Linked DNA regions of Homo sapiens: region 1 is linked to region 2. Evidence: promoter capture Hi-C in human tissues and cell types (Jung and others, 2019). All regions are on one chromosome and are shown on one strand. Each heading gives the region's core, a stretch centred on a gene start or on the middle of the fragment in contact. The rest is flanking DNA. Distances are from core to core; before and after follow the strand shown.

What was found. The method cuts DNA at HindIII sites, captures the fragments that hold promoters and counts their contacts. A contact is called where the count stands out against the background at its distance.
Region 1: a fragment that was not itself captured here is called in contact with the fragment with the promoter of AASS in region 2 in 1 of the 25 tissues and cell types used here (aorta).

The regions. Positions count from the first base shown.
Region 1 is chr7:122,103,442-122,109,960 of GRCh38, forward strand. All of the region lies in intron 11 of AASS (aminoadipate-semialdehyde synthase), which reads right to left. Among named protein-coding and RNA genes, the nearest start is that of AASS, 38 kb to the right of the region's middle. The HindIII fragment of the contact is 3,910 bases long and covers 1,933-5,842 here.
Region 2 is chr7:122,141,092-122,147,738 of GRCh38, forward strand. AASS (aminoadipate-semialdehyde synthase) reads right to left here and starts at 3,158. Exons shown (of 24, transcript NM_005763.4): 1 at 3,070-3,158. It overlaps LOC102724527 (a long non-coding RNA gene), which reads left to right and starts at 3,323. Exons shown (of 6, transcript XR_007060500.1): 1 at 3,323-3,405. RefSeq lists enhancers at 1,982-2,487, 3,489-3,538 and a silencer at 2,789-2,988. The HindIII fragment of the contact is 13,093 bases long and covers 1-6,647 here.

The sequences.
Region 1 (6,519 bases), core at 2,638-5,137, 37 kb before region 2:
GCTCTATAAGAAATGCTTAAGGGAGTTTTTCAAGTAGAAAAAAAGAACATTACTAACATGAAAACATAAAAAGTAAAAAAATCCACTGATAAAGGTAGATATATATTCAAATCCAGAATACCCTGATACTACTATGGCACTCTGCAAAACATAGGTATATATAACTCTAGGATGGAAGTTAAAATTCAAAACAGTCAAAAATAATGATAGCTACAATAAAGTATTAAGAAATATGTAAGCTAAAAAGATGAAAATTGTGACATCAAAAAATATTAACTGGTTGCACCCAACTCAGAAAGGTAAAAAAGAAATATGAATATATGTACATATACATATATATGTGTGTATATATACTATATATACTATACACACACACACACGCTGGTGGGAGGGTAGAATTCTACAGTTTTTGTATGCAACTGAATTTAAGTTGTTATTAGTATAAAATAGTCTATTATAACTATAAGACATTTTATGTAAGCCTTGTGGTAACCACAAAGCAGAATACTAAAGCAGATATACAAATGATAAAGATAAAAGAATACAAATTTAGCACTAAAGGAAATCACTAAATCACAAAGATAAACAGGAGAGGAAAAAAAGAACAAATAAGCTATAAAGCAATCAGAAAACATTTAACAAAATGGCAGTAGTAAGTCCTTGGCATATCAATAATTACTCTGAATGTAAACAGATTAAATTGTTCAATTAAAACACAGAGTGGCTGAATGGATTAAAAAAACAAAGCTCTACTATTCACAATAGCAAAGTTATGGAACCAATCTAGATACCCATCAGTGGTGAATTGGATAAAGAAAATGTGGTATATATACACCATGGAATACTATGCAGCCATAAAAAAGAATGAAATTGGCCAGGCACAGTGGCTCACACCTGTAATCCCAGCACTTTGAGAGGCCAAGGTGAGCAGATCACCTGATGTCAGAAGTTCAAGACCACCCTGGCCAACATGGTGAAACCCTGTCTCTACTAAAAATACAAACATTAGCCAGGCTTGGTGGTGGGCACCTGTAATCCCATCTACTGGGGAAGCTGAGGCAGGAGAATTGCTTGAACCCAGGAGGCAGAGGTTTGTGAAATGAGATGGTGCCACTACACCAGCCTAGGTGACAGAGCAAGACTGCCTCAAAAATAAACAAACAATGAAACTACGTCCTTTGCAGCAATCTGGATGCAGATGAAGGCCATTATCCTAAGCAAATTAATGTAGGAACAGAAAACCAAATACCACATGTTCTCAGTTATAAGTGGGAGCTAAACACTGAGTACACATGGACACAAAGAAGGGAACAATAGAAACCAGGGTATACTTGAGGGTGGAGGATGGGAGGAGGGTGAAGACTGAAAAACTACCTATCAGGTACTATGCTCACTACTTTAGTGACGAATTCATTTGTGCTCCAAACCCCAGTGACATGCAATTTACTCATGTAATAAAACTGCACATGTACCCCCGAACCTAAAATAAAAGTTGCAAAGAGAAAAAAAAAATAAGCTCTCACTATATGCTGCACACAAGAGACACACTTTCACCTTAAGAATGCACATAGGCTTTCATCCCTCAAAGGGGATGAAAGAAGATATTCCTTGCAAATAATACCAACAGAGGACAGGGACAATACTTATTCTAGATAGAAAAAACTTAACACAAAAATTTTCACAAGAGACAAAGAAAGTCATTATTAAAGAGCTCAAGTCATTAAGAAGTCATAGCAATTGTAAATACATGTGCACTCAACATTGGAACACCTAAACATATAAAGCAAATATTAATTAATCAACATGAAGGTAAAAAATAGATACCAAAACAATAATAGTAGGAGACTTCAATACCCCTCTTTCAAAGATGGAAAGATCAACCAGAAAGAAATTAATAAGAAAATACTGGAATTGATCTGTGCTTTAGACAAAATGGACCTAATAGATAAATATAGAACTTTTTATCCAGTAGCACCAGTGTACGCATTCTTCTCTAGTACATATAGAATGCTCTCCAGAATAGACCATATGGTAGGCCACAAAATATGTCTTAACAAATTCAAAAAAATTGAAATCATATTAAGTATTGTTTCTGATCACAGTGGTATGAAGCTAGAAATCAATAACAAGAGAAACTTTGGAAACTACAAACACATGCAAATTAAACAACATAATCCTCATCAATCAAGGAGTCAATAGAGAAACTAAAAGGGAAATTTAAAAATTTCTAGAGACAAATGAAAATGAAAACACAACCTACCAAAACCTATGGGATACAGCAAAAGCAGTACTCAGAAGGAAGTTTATAGCAATTTTGAAATGCCTATTTCAAAAAAGAACAAAGATCTCAGATAACCCAATGTTGCACCTCAAGGACCAAGAAAAACAGGAACAAACTGAACCCAAAATTAGTAGACACAAAGAAATAATGATGGTTAGAGAAGACATAAACAAAATAGAGACTTAAAAAATATAAAAGATCAATGAAACAAAGAGTTTGTTTGAAAAGGTAAACAAAATCAACAAACCCTGTGTCTGCCTAAGGAGAAAAGACTCAAATGAATAAAATTTTAGATGACTGTTGTTGGTGTGTTGAAATGCTAGTGATTTTTGTATGTTGATTTTGTATCCTGAAACTTTGCTGAAATTGTTTATCAGCTTAATTTTTGGGCTAAGACTAGGGGGTTGTCTAGATATAGAATCATGTCATCTGCAAAAAGGGATAATTTGACTTCCTCTCTTCCTATTTGAATGCTTTTTATTTCTTTCTCTTGCCTGATTGTTCTGGCCAGGACTTCCAATACTATGTTGGATGCAAGTGGTAAAAGAGGGCATCCTTGTTGCCAGTTTTCAAGGGGAATCAATGTTATTAAAATGGCCATACTGCCCAAAGCAATTTATAGATTCAATGCTATTCTTATCAAATTACCCATGACATTCTTCATAGAACTAGAAAGAAACTATTTTAAAATTCATATGGAACCAAAAAGAAGCAGAATAGCCAAGGCAATCCTAAACAAAAAAAAACAGAGCTGGAGGTATCATGCTACCTGACTTCAAACTATATTACAGGGCTACAGTAACCAAAACAGCATAAGACTCGTACAAAACCAGACACAAAGACCAATAAAACAGAATAGAGAGCTCAAAAATAAGGCCACACATCTTCAACCATCTGATCTTCAACAAAGCTGACAAAAACAAACAATGAGGAAAGGACTCCCTGTTTAATAAATGGTGCTGGGATAACTGGCTAGCTATATGCAGAAGATTAAAACTGGATCACTTCCTTACAGCATATAAAATGGTGTAAATCAACTCAAAGTGGATTAAAGAATGAAATGTAAAACCCAAAATTATAAAAACCCTGGAAGATGATCTAGGCAAAACCATTCTGGACATGGGAACTAGCAAAGATTTCATGATGAAGACACCAAAAACAAATGCAACAAATGGGATCTAATTAAACTAAGGGGGTTTTGCACAGCAAAAGAAACTATGAACAGAGTAAACAATCTACAGAATGGGAGAAAATATTTGCAAACTATGCATCTGACAAAAGTCTAATATCTAGCTTCTATAAAAACTTAAATTTACAAGAAAAAACAAACAACCCCATTAAAAGCTGGGCAAAGGACATGAACAGACACTTTTCAATTGAAGACATACATGCAGTCAACAAGCATATGAAAACAAATTCAACATCACTGATAATTAAAGAAATGCAAATCAAAACCACAATGAGATACCGTCTCACACTAGTCAGAATGGATATTACTAAAAGGTCAAAACATAACAGATGCTGGTGAGGTTGTGGAGAAAAACGAATGCTTATACACTGTTGGTGGGAGTAAAAATCAGTTCAACCATTGTGGAAAGCAGTGTGGCAATTCCTCAAAGAGCTAAAAACAGAACTACTCTTCAACCCAGCAATCCATTACTGGGTAATATACCCAAAGGAATATAAAATGTTCTATCATAAGGACACATACACATGCACATGCTGTTGTAAAGAGTGCTCATTGGAGCGCTATTGTAAATAGCAGAGACATGGACTCAACCTAAATGCCTATAAATGATAGACTGTATAAAGAACATGTGGTACACCATGGAATACTATGAAGCCATAAAAAAGAATGAGATCATGTCTTTTGCAGGAACATGGATAGAGCTAGAAGCCATTATCCTTAGCAAATTAATGCAGGAACAGAAAACCAAATACTGCATGCTCTCCCTTATAAGCAGGAGCTAAATGATGAGGACACATAGACACATAGAGGGGAACAACACACACTGGGGCCTTCCTGAGGGAGAAGGGAGAGGAGCACAAAAAATGACTATTGGGTAGTAGGCTTAATACCCTGGTGATGAAATAATCTGCACATCCACCCCTCGTGACACAAGTTTACCTATAGAACAAACCTGCACATGTACCCCTGAACCTAAAAGTTTTTTTTAAGTATGTATTAGCTTCTGCAACATTATTGCATAACAAATCACCCACAACTCAAAAAAAAAAAAAAAAACACAGATGAAAAAGGAGACATTACAACTTATACCACAGAAATACAAAGGATCATAAGAGAGCATTATGAACAATGATATGCCAAAAACTTGGAAAACCTAGAAGAAATGAACAAATTCCTGGACACATACAACCTACCAAGATTGAACCAGAAAAAAATAAACAATCTGAATAGGCGAATCGATAACAAGCAGCAAGATTGAATCAGTAATAAAAAGTCTCCCATCAAAGACTAGCCCAGGGCCTGATGGTTTCACTACTGAACTCTACCAAACATTTAAAGAAGATTTAATACCAATTCTTCTCAAACTATTCCAGAATATCAAGGAGGAGGGAATTCTTCCAAACTAATTCTATAAGGCCAGTGTTATTGTGATACCAAAATCAGACAAGGACGTAACAAAAAAAGTAAACTTCAGGCCAATATCCCTGAAGAACATAGATACAAAAATTTTCAACAAAATACTAGAAAACCAAATTTAACAGCATATTTACAAGAGCATTCACCATAATAAATGGGATTCATTCCAGGGGTGCAAGAATGGTTCAACATATGCAAATTAATAAACATAATTTATCACATTGACAGAATGAAGGACAAAAACCATATGATTATTCCAACAGAAACAGAAAAAAATATTTGACAAATTCAACATCACCTTATGATAAAAACTTTCATCAAATTTGGCATACAGGGTACATACCTCAACATAATAAAAGCCATATTTGACAGACCCACAGCTAACATCATACTGATCATGGAAAATTGAAAGCTTTTTCTCTAAGATATGGAACAAGAAAAGGATGCTACTATTCAACATAGTACTGGATGTTCTAGTCAGTGTAACTAGGCAAAAAAAAAGAAAACAAAGGTACCCAAATTGGAAAGCAGGAAGTCAAATTGTCCTTGTTTGAAGATGACGAAATCTTATATATAGAAAACCCTAAAGACTCCATCAAAACACTGTTGGAACTGATAAATTTAGTAAAATTGCAGAATGCAAAATCAACATACAAAAATTAGTAGCATTTCTATATGCCAACTGTGAACAATCTGAAAAAAAATCCCATTTCCAATAGCCACAGCAAAAATAAGATGCATAAGAATAAATTTAACCAAGGAAATGAAAGATCTCTATACTAAAAACTGTAAAACATTGATGAAAGACATTGAAGAAAACAAAAACAAATGTAAAGATATTCCCATGTTCATGGAATGGAAGAATTTATATTGTTAAAATGCCCATACTACCCAAAGCAATCTACCAATTCAGGGCAATCCTTACCAAAAAAAAAAAAAAAATGATAATCTTCACAGAAATAGAAAAGACAATCCTAAAACTAGTATGAAATCACAAAAGACCCCAAATCGTCACACAATATTTAGCAAAAAGAACGAAGCTGGAGGCATCACACTACCTGACTTCAAAATATACTACAAAGCTATAGTAACCAAAACAGCATGGTACTGGCATAACAGCAGACACATAAACCAATGGAACAGAAAAGCAAGCCCAGAAAGAAATCCATGCATCTATATCCACCAGTTTTGGAGAAAAGTGTCAAGAACAAACATTAAGGGAAGAAGAGTCTCTTCAATAAATGGTGCTGGGAAAATTGGATATCTACATTCAGAAGAATAAAACTAGACCCCCTATTTCTCATCATATAAACAAATCAACTCAAAATGGATTAAACACTTAAATGGAAGACCTAAAACTATGAAACTACTAGAAGAAAAAAAAAACACAGGGGAAATGCTTCATTACATTGACCTGGTTAAGAATTTTTTGGATAAGAACTCAAAAGCACAAGCACAAAACCCAAAAACAGACAAATGGAATTACATCAAACTAAAAAGCTTCTGCACAGCAAAACAAACAAACAAAAGATCAATTGAGTGAAGAAACAACAGAATGGGAAAAAGTATTTGCAAACTATACGTCTCACAAGGAAGTAATACTCAGAATATACAAGAAAGTCAAAGAACAAAA
Region 2 (6,647 bases), core at 1,908-4,407:
AGGCTTGCTAGAACTAGGCTTGGGCTTGCATTAACACTGGTCATACTTTGACTTCCTGTGCGTGGGTACATTCTTTTAATGCTTCCATGTTAAACCCTCTATAAAATACTTTACTGGATTAAGAAGAAAGTGGTAGACTTTGGGGGAGGAGGTCTATTAGTGTTAACTAATCTGGTCTGAGAATTTTCATATTTTCTCCAGCCCATCACCTACTCAAAGTCATCCATAAACATGACACATATTTCTCCTGGTCTCTAGCTTATAATTTTAGCTTCATTGAAATGGAATACAAAGTTAGTTCTAAATCGGAGTCTAGTCCAAAATGCTTATCTGCTTACTTGTCTGTCTCTTTGCTAAACTGCAAATGTGTATGAGTTGTGTTTTACTCATCTCTGTATTCCCAATGACTGGCACATGGGAAAACAGCAAGTGTTTTAAGAAAGAATGAATAAATGAAAAAGCAAATTCAATAAACATTATAAAGACCTATGCAGCAAGAAAACAAACAAACAAACAAACAGATAAAATAGACACATTAATAAGAGACTCACATCCCCCTAACCCTGCAAAAAAAAAAAAAAAAAAAAAAAAAAACTTGATTCTCTTCCAAGATCTCATAGATCAACAAATGTCGTGAAATATAGTACAGTATAGTGGGAAAACTTAGACATGGGAGCTGGGACACATAACTAGATGTAGGGTTCCTCCTCTTGACTTCAGTTTCCTTACCCAGACAAAAATATAATACTAAAGTCCCTTTCAGGCTCTGATATTCTGATTCTATTAAGCATAGTAGTAACTGGACACTGAGAATTACAAAAACATTAGAAATGTAGAACATAAATAGGCACTCTGACTTATGAATTTCTAGCTAAAGTACACCAAACAGGGAAACAAAATACCAAAAACACAATCAAGAAAGAGTGGACATTCACCTAAGCTACCTGCATTAATAGCATGGACCAGGAACCAAGAGCTTGCAACAGAAGATGGATACCTCAAAGGAATACTGGTTTCTCTCCTGGGTTCCTCAGCGGCCAAACTTACTCTGTGACCTTGGCTGGCAACTTAACCTGTCTGTGCATCATGCGCAAAATGAGAATCATATTAACCTCTACCTCTTAGGGCTCTTAAGACGTTTAATTGAGCTAATATGCATAAAGTGCTGAGCATTGCTGTGTGTCATAAACAATAAATTTTAAGAAAAGAAAAAGCCTCCAGGCTTGCCTACTCCTCAAAAGCGAGCACAACCACGCCGCTAACAGTAGACTCACATTTCTTTCCTCTGTCACACTGTAGTAAGACCTTCACGATGGCTCCATATTAATCCCCCACCCTTACATTATTTTGGAAAAAAAATAATTAGAGCCCAATAAGCCCTCTCTTCAACTTCAAACTTCAGGCATGCATGTTCAAGATAAATAAATTACCATTTTAATGTTGTATTTCATCAAATTTAAGACAATTTTTTTACACATTTTAGCATCAGTGAAATAGGGATGCATCTTACAATAGATGACACCTTAGATCAGATGAATGTGGTAATAATGTTTTGGGGTTATTTTCCATTCCAAATGTTTGTTTCCATGATTTCATGAATTGCATAGAATCTTTTGTAGCCTTCCCAAGAAAACTTACCACTGTTTGTAATGTTATTTCTATGAGAAAATTAATAAAAGAATATATGAAAAAAATGAAAATGTTTTGTTAAATGGTGGCTTCTTAAACACCAAAGATCATTTCCAAAATTCCGAACCAAGGTCTGTTAAACGACTAGTGAGAAAAAAAATTCAATGACAAATAAACCAAAGTTCTGATCACGCCATCATCAATAACAAGTGAAACTGATAACAAATATGATTATCTGAAGAGTGGGAAAATGATTCAGGTAAATTGGCTTCAATTTTTGTCCACCTAACTCATTTTGCAGAATGGCCACCAGGTTACACAGTCAAGTCATGTAGCCCTAGATTCACTCATCTTCATGGGAAAAAAAGAAGAGGGGAGTGCAGGGGACAAAACAGACAAACCCAGAAACACCAAAGTGCCATCAGTGTTTTGGGATTTTTTTTAATACAGTATTGGAAAGCCGCAGCTTCAGTCAAGGACCATTCCGTCCTGTGTATAACTACATCTCACAGCTGCACCTTCCCCACTGATAACCCACAACATCAAAAAATGTTAATCCTTGTTCAAGTTACTGAACTAATTCATTCTCTCTCGCGCTCGAGCGCTCTTTCTCTCTCTCTCTTCCGCTCCCCCCACCCCCATTCCCCTGAAATCAATGTCTGAAAAGCACATTTCTTCTTCTGAAGCTGTCAGGATAGACAGACATTCAGCCCCATTCAACCGAGGAGGGTGGGTAAACTGCTTCTCCCCGCGCCCCGTCCCGCGCGAGCGCTCACAATGGGCTGCATAGTCCCGCAGGGGCTGAAGAGTTCAGGAAACCCAGACTTGCAAGGCGCCCAACTTCCACCCATCTCCGATCCTTGCTGGAGAATGGGTCTGTGTCTCGGAGAGTGGGCAGCCCAAGATGGACAAGGAGAGAAGTTTGTGATCAGTTTGGCTAAGCTGGGCGTGGGGAGGGAAGGGGGAAAGAACCACCCCGAAATCTCCATCCACCGCCCCCTCAGCCAGCCGTCCCCTCTAAGCACGCCGTCCACAAATTAACAAGCCGTTGTTTCCTCAGCTTCATCAGTTCTTTATTCCCCAGCCACAGCACCACCACTGTCCGCCAAAAAAGAAAGAAAAGAAATCCGAATTGCAATCCCTCGCCTTTCTACTTAGAAATGCTGGAGCTGCGCTGACCGCTCTCCCTCCCTTCCTCGCAGTGAAACTCTCTGCGTTTCCGCTCTCCCTCCATTCCTCGCAGGGAGGCCCGAATGCTCGCCGCCTTCTCCCTCTCTCGGCCCGGCCGGGGTCGCCTCGCGGCGCCGGGACCCGAAGGCCAGGCTCGCGGGCCCCTCCCAGCGACAGCCCGAGCCCGGCCCGCTATCTCCACCGCATCTCACAGGCTGAGCCCACCCGCGCGTCTGCTCAGCTCTCCGCGGGGACCTCTCCTCTCCTCACCTCGTCCGCTCTGGGGCGCCGACTTGTCCCCCGCCGCCTCGAATCTTCCGAGTCGCTGCAGGGGAGGCTCCGAATTCCTAGAAGAAACTGGGATGGAAGGCCGGGAAGTAGGAGGTGTTTGCTCAACTTCTGAGGACGTCACGCCTCTGCCTCCCGTAGCCAATCAGCAGCCGCCCTGAGGGAACAACCTTCTCATCTGCCAATCGGCGGCGCTGCCAGTTGCTACGTCATGCCCGGCCCCTGCTCCTCCCCAAGATCCTTCTGTCTCTGATCTCTGATCTCTGACCTGCGTTCTTAGCTGGGACGTCGAGTTCTCCCAGGATAATTATCGACCAGGTTTGTAACTGTCCGTGGCAGAAGGCGGGCGGGGACGGAAAGCAACGAAAATAGTCTGGGCATTACGCTCTAAATAGAGGTGCACATCTCCTGGGGAAAAGTTGCGAGCGCCGGTACCTCACGTTTGTTTAGCTATAGACACTTTTCAAAGCATTTCACCGCCTTGTCACAACCCTGTGAAGCCAGATAACAGTTCTTACAACAGTTTTAGAAGCCAGCAAGCGGAGAATCTGAGAAATTAAAACTGAGTGTGTTCATGTGCATATGGCAATGTCCAATGTTATTGAAAAGTCCTAACTACCTAGGAGGCCTGGAGGGAGGGGGAAAACGTATTTCATAGACACTAGCCCCAGCACTAGGAACTGAAGAATCGTCTGAAGCCCAGCTGTGATTCCCCAAGGCGTCAACGGTCAGAAGTTAATCTTCCCTCCTGTTTTTACAACTTTCTCCACCACTTACTCTTCTTATACCTGCCATAGATGTATTTAGCTACTGAACTCCTATGTCAACAATCTATAGCCAGAACGTTCTTGAGACTCCACTCATATCTCCAATTGCAGAGAAAATTATTTATTTATTTATTTGTGGTAGACATGGGGTCTCGCTGTGTTGACCAGGACACTGGTCTGGAACTCCTAGCCTCAAGCTATCCTCCCACCTCGTCCTCCCAAAGCACTGGGATTACAGGTGTTAGCCACTGTGCCCAACCCCAAATTAGAATTTTATCTGTAAGTAGAGTTGGAATTTTCTTCTGTATCTTCAGCTTCACATTTCCAAAATCGGATCCCTTATCATTCTTGGAAAGTCTTCCAAAGGCTGTGTAGTGGTTCACACCTGTAATCTCAGCACTTTGGGAGACTGAGGCTGGAGAATCACTTGAGCCCAGGAGTTTAAGACTAACCTGGGCAACGTAGCAAGACCTGTGTCTACTAAAAATAAAAATAATAAAAATAAATAAAATTTTAAAAAGCCAGGTGTAGTGGCACATACCTGTGGTCCCAACTACTTAGGAGGCTAAGGTGGAAGGATCACTTGAGCCGCAGGATGTTGAGGCTGCAGTGAGCCATGATCATGCCACTGCACTGTAGTCTGGGTGACAGAGTAAGACCCTGTCTCAAAAAATAAAATAAAATAAAGCCTTCCCTTTTGTGCTCACCAGCTCTGTTACTAATATCACTGCCTTCCTACTCACCACCTATCCAGACTTAAAAAGCCACGGTCACTTCAGTTCTTCCTCTGGCCCCTCAGCCTTACCCTTGGTGTTGACACTGTCCTTTAAAAACCCCACTACTATCACCCTACTTCAAACCCCTTTTTATATATAACGTAGACCATATTTTTTTAAGCATACAACTCCAATTGTCTCATTGGCCTAAGCAAAAAGCCTCAGAGACTACCCAGTACTTGTGGAACATTAGCCCAACGTTCTTCACATAATGTTAGTTGCTTCAGATGTGGCCAAAATCAATGACCTTGGCTTTATTTCTGCAGCAGAACCAGCCTGAAACCACCACTGAAACACAATTTATGCCTTGCTATCTTCCTAAGGATTAAGCATCTGGGTAAGAATGTAAGAATCCTTACTCTTCTCCTTTGAGTTGTAAATCATGGGCAAGTTACTTAGTTTTCAAAAAAAGCCTGTGCTCCATTATCTGTTAATGGGTTAATAATAGCCACTACTTCGTGGAGTCATGAGAACAAAATGAGATAATGGCCAAAGTGCCCTGTTAATTGTCTCACTGAAGAAACTGGAAATCATTATTTATTTTCCTCCAAATACCTCATGTTGTAGACTTATCTGTAATTCTAATTTACAAAAATATTCACCTTTCTAAAACTAACCAGCCCTTTGGGGTTCAGCTCAAATGCCACTTAAATAATGAAAACTTTCCTGAATATTTCAACCACATGTGATTGTTTCCCTTCTCCCTTGTGTATTGGCCTCTCTTATTGTACTTATCACATTCTTCCTTTTATCACAGTTATTCATACTTACCTTATCCACATTGCTCAGCTCACCTGTCATCACCACCATAAAATAAGAATATGTACGTGGACTTCCTCTTTTCTTTTCTTTTCTATTTATTTATTGCTTCTAGTACGATGCTATGCGTGTAATAAGTCAGTTGGGGTCTTAGCAGGAAATAGGTGGCACAATCCAACTGGGTAAATTAGGAGACACAAAAGGACTGAGTGTATGCAGGGATAAAGGAAAGTGGCAGTATATGTGCCATGTAGTCCCTGGGACTAGCAACACTGACAATCACTCGTAGGCCTAAACAGGGCCAGGGAAAGAAATAATTACCAGAACTCAGGAATAGTTCTACCTGTAGTGTAGCTGTAGCTGTAGCTGTAGAGAGTGCCATTCAACCAACAGTAGTGGTTTGTGACAGGAATAAAGCTGCCTAAAGATTAATCCTGCCGGCCGGGCACAGTGGCTCATGCCTGTAATCCCAGCACTTTGGAATGCCAAGGTGGGCAGATCACCTGAGGTCAGGAGTTTGAGACCAGCCTGGCCAACATGGTGAAACCCTGTCTCTACTAAAAATACAAAAATTAGCCAGGCATGGTGGCAAGGGCCCGTAATCCCAGCTACTTGGGAGGCTGAGGCAGGAGAATCGCTTGCACCCGGGAGGAGGAGGTTGCAGTAAGCCGAGATGACACCACTGCATTCCAGCCTGGGTGACAAGAGTGAGACTCCATCTCAAAAACAAACAAAAAAAGATTAATCCTACCTGAAGAGGAACCTACCTAAGGCAGGGGTCAACAAACTTTTTTCTGTAAAGGGCCAGAAAATAAATATTTTAGGCTTCACAGATCATACCATCTCTGTCATGTCATGACTACTCAACTCTGCTGGCTGGAATGTAAAAGGCAGCTATAGGCCATATTTAAATGGATATGTGTGGCTGTGTTTTGATAAAACTTAATTTACAAAAGTAGGCTGCAGGGCAGATAGGGCCTCTGGGCTACAGTTTGCAGACCCCTGTTCTTCCATAGGGAAGGAATAATCTTACTTCACTCTCCTCCTGCCCCTTCATCTCCTGCTGATGGCTTCTACTATTTGGACATAAATAGAGCCAGATTGTTAGTGAAGTCCAAAAAGATCACCTCCCATTCTGGGGGCAGAGCAGGTGCAGAAAGGGACAGAAATTCTAGAGGGTTCAAAGGAGAATATTCAACACAAAATGTTTTCAGCAACTACTTGTTGAAATGAATGAATCGTATGACTGGTCACTGTG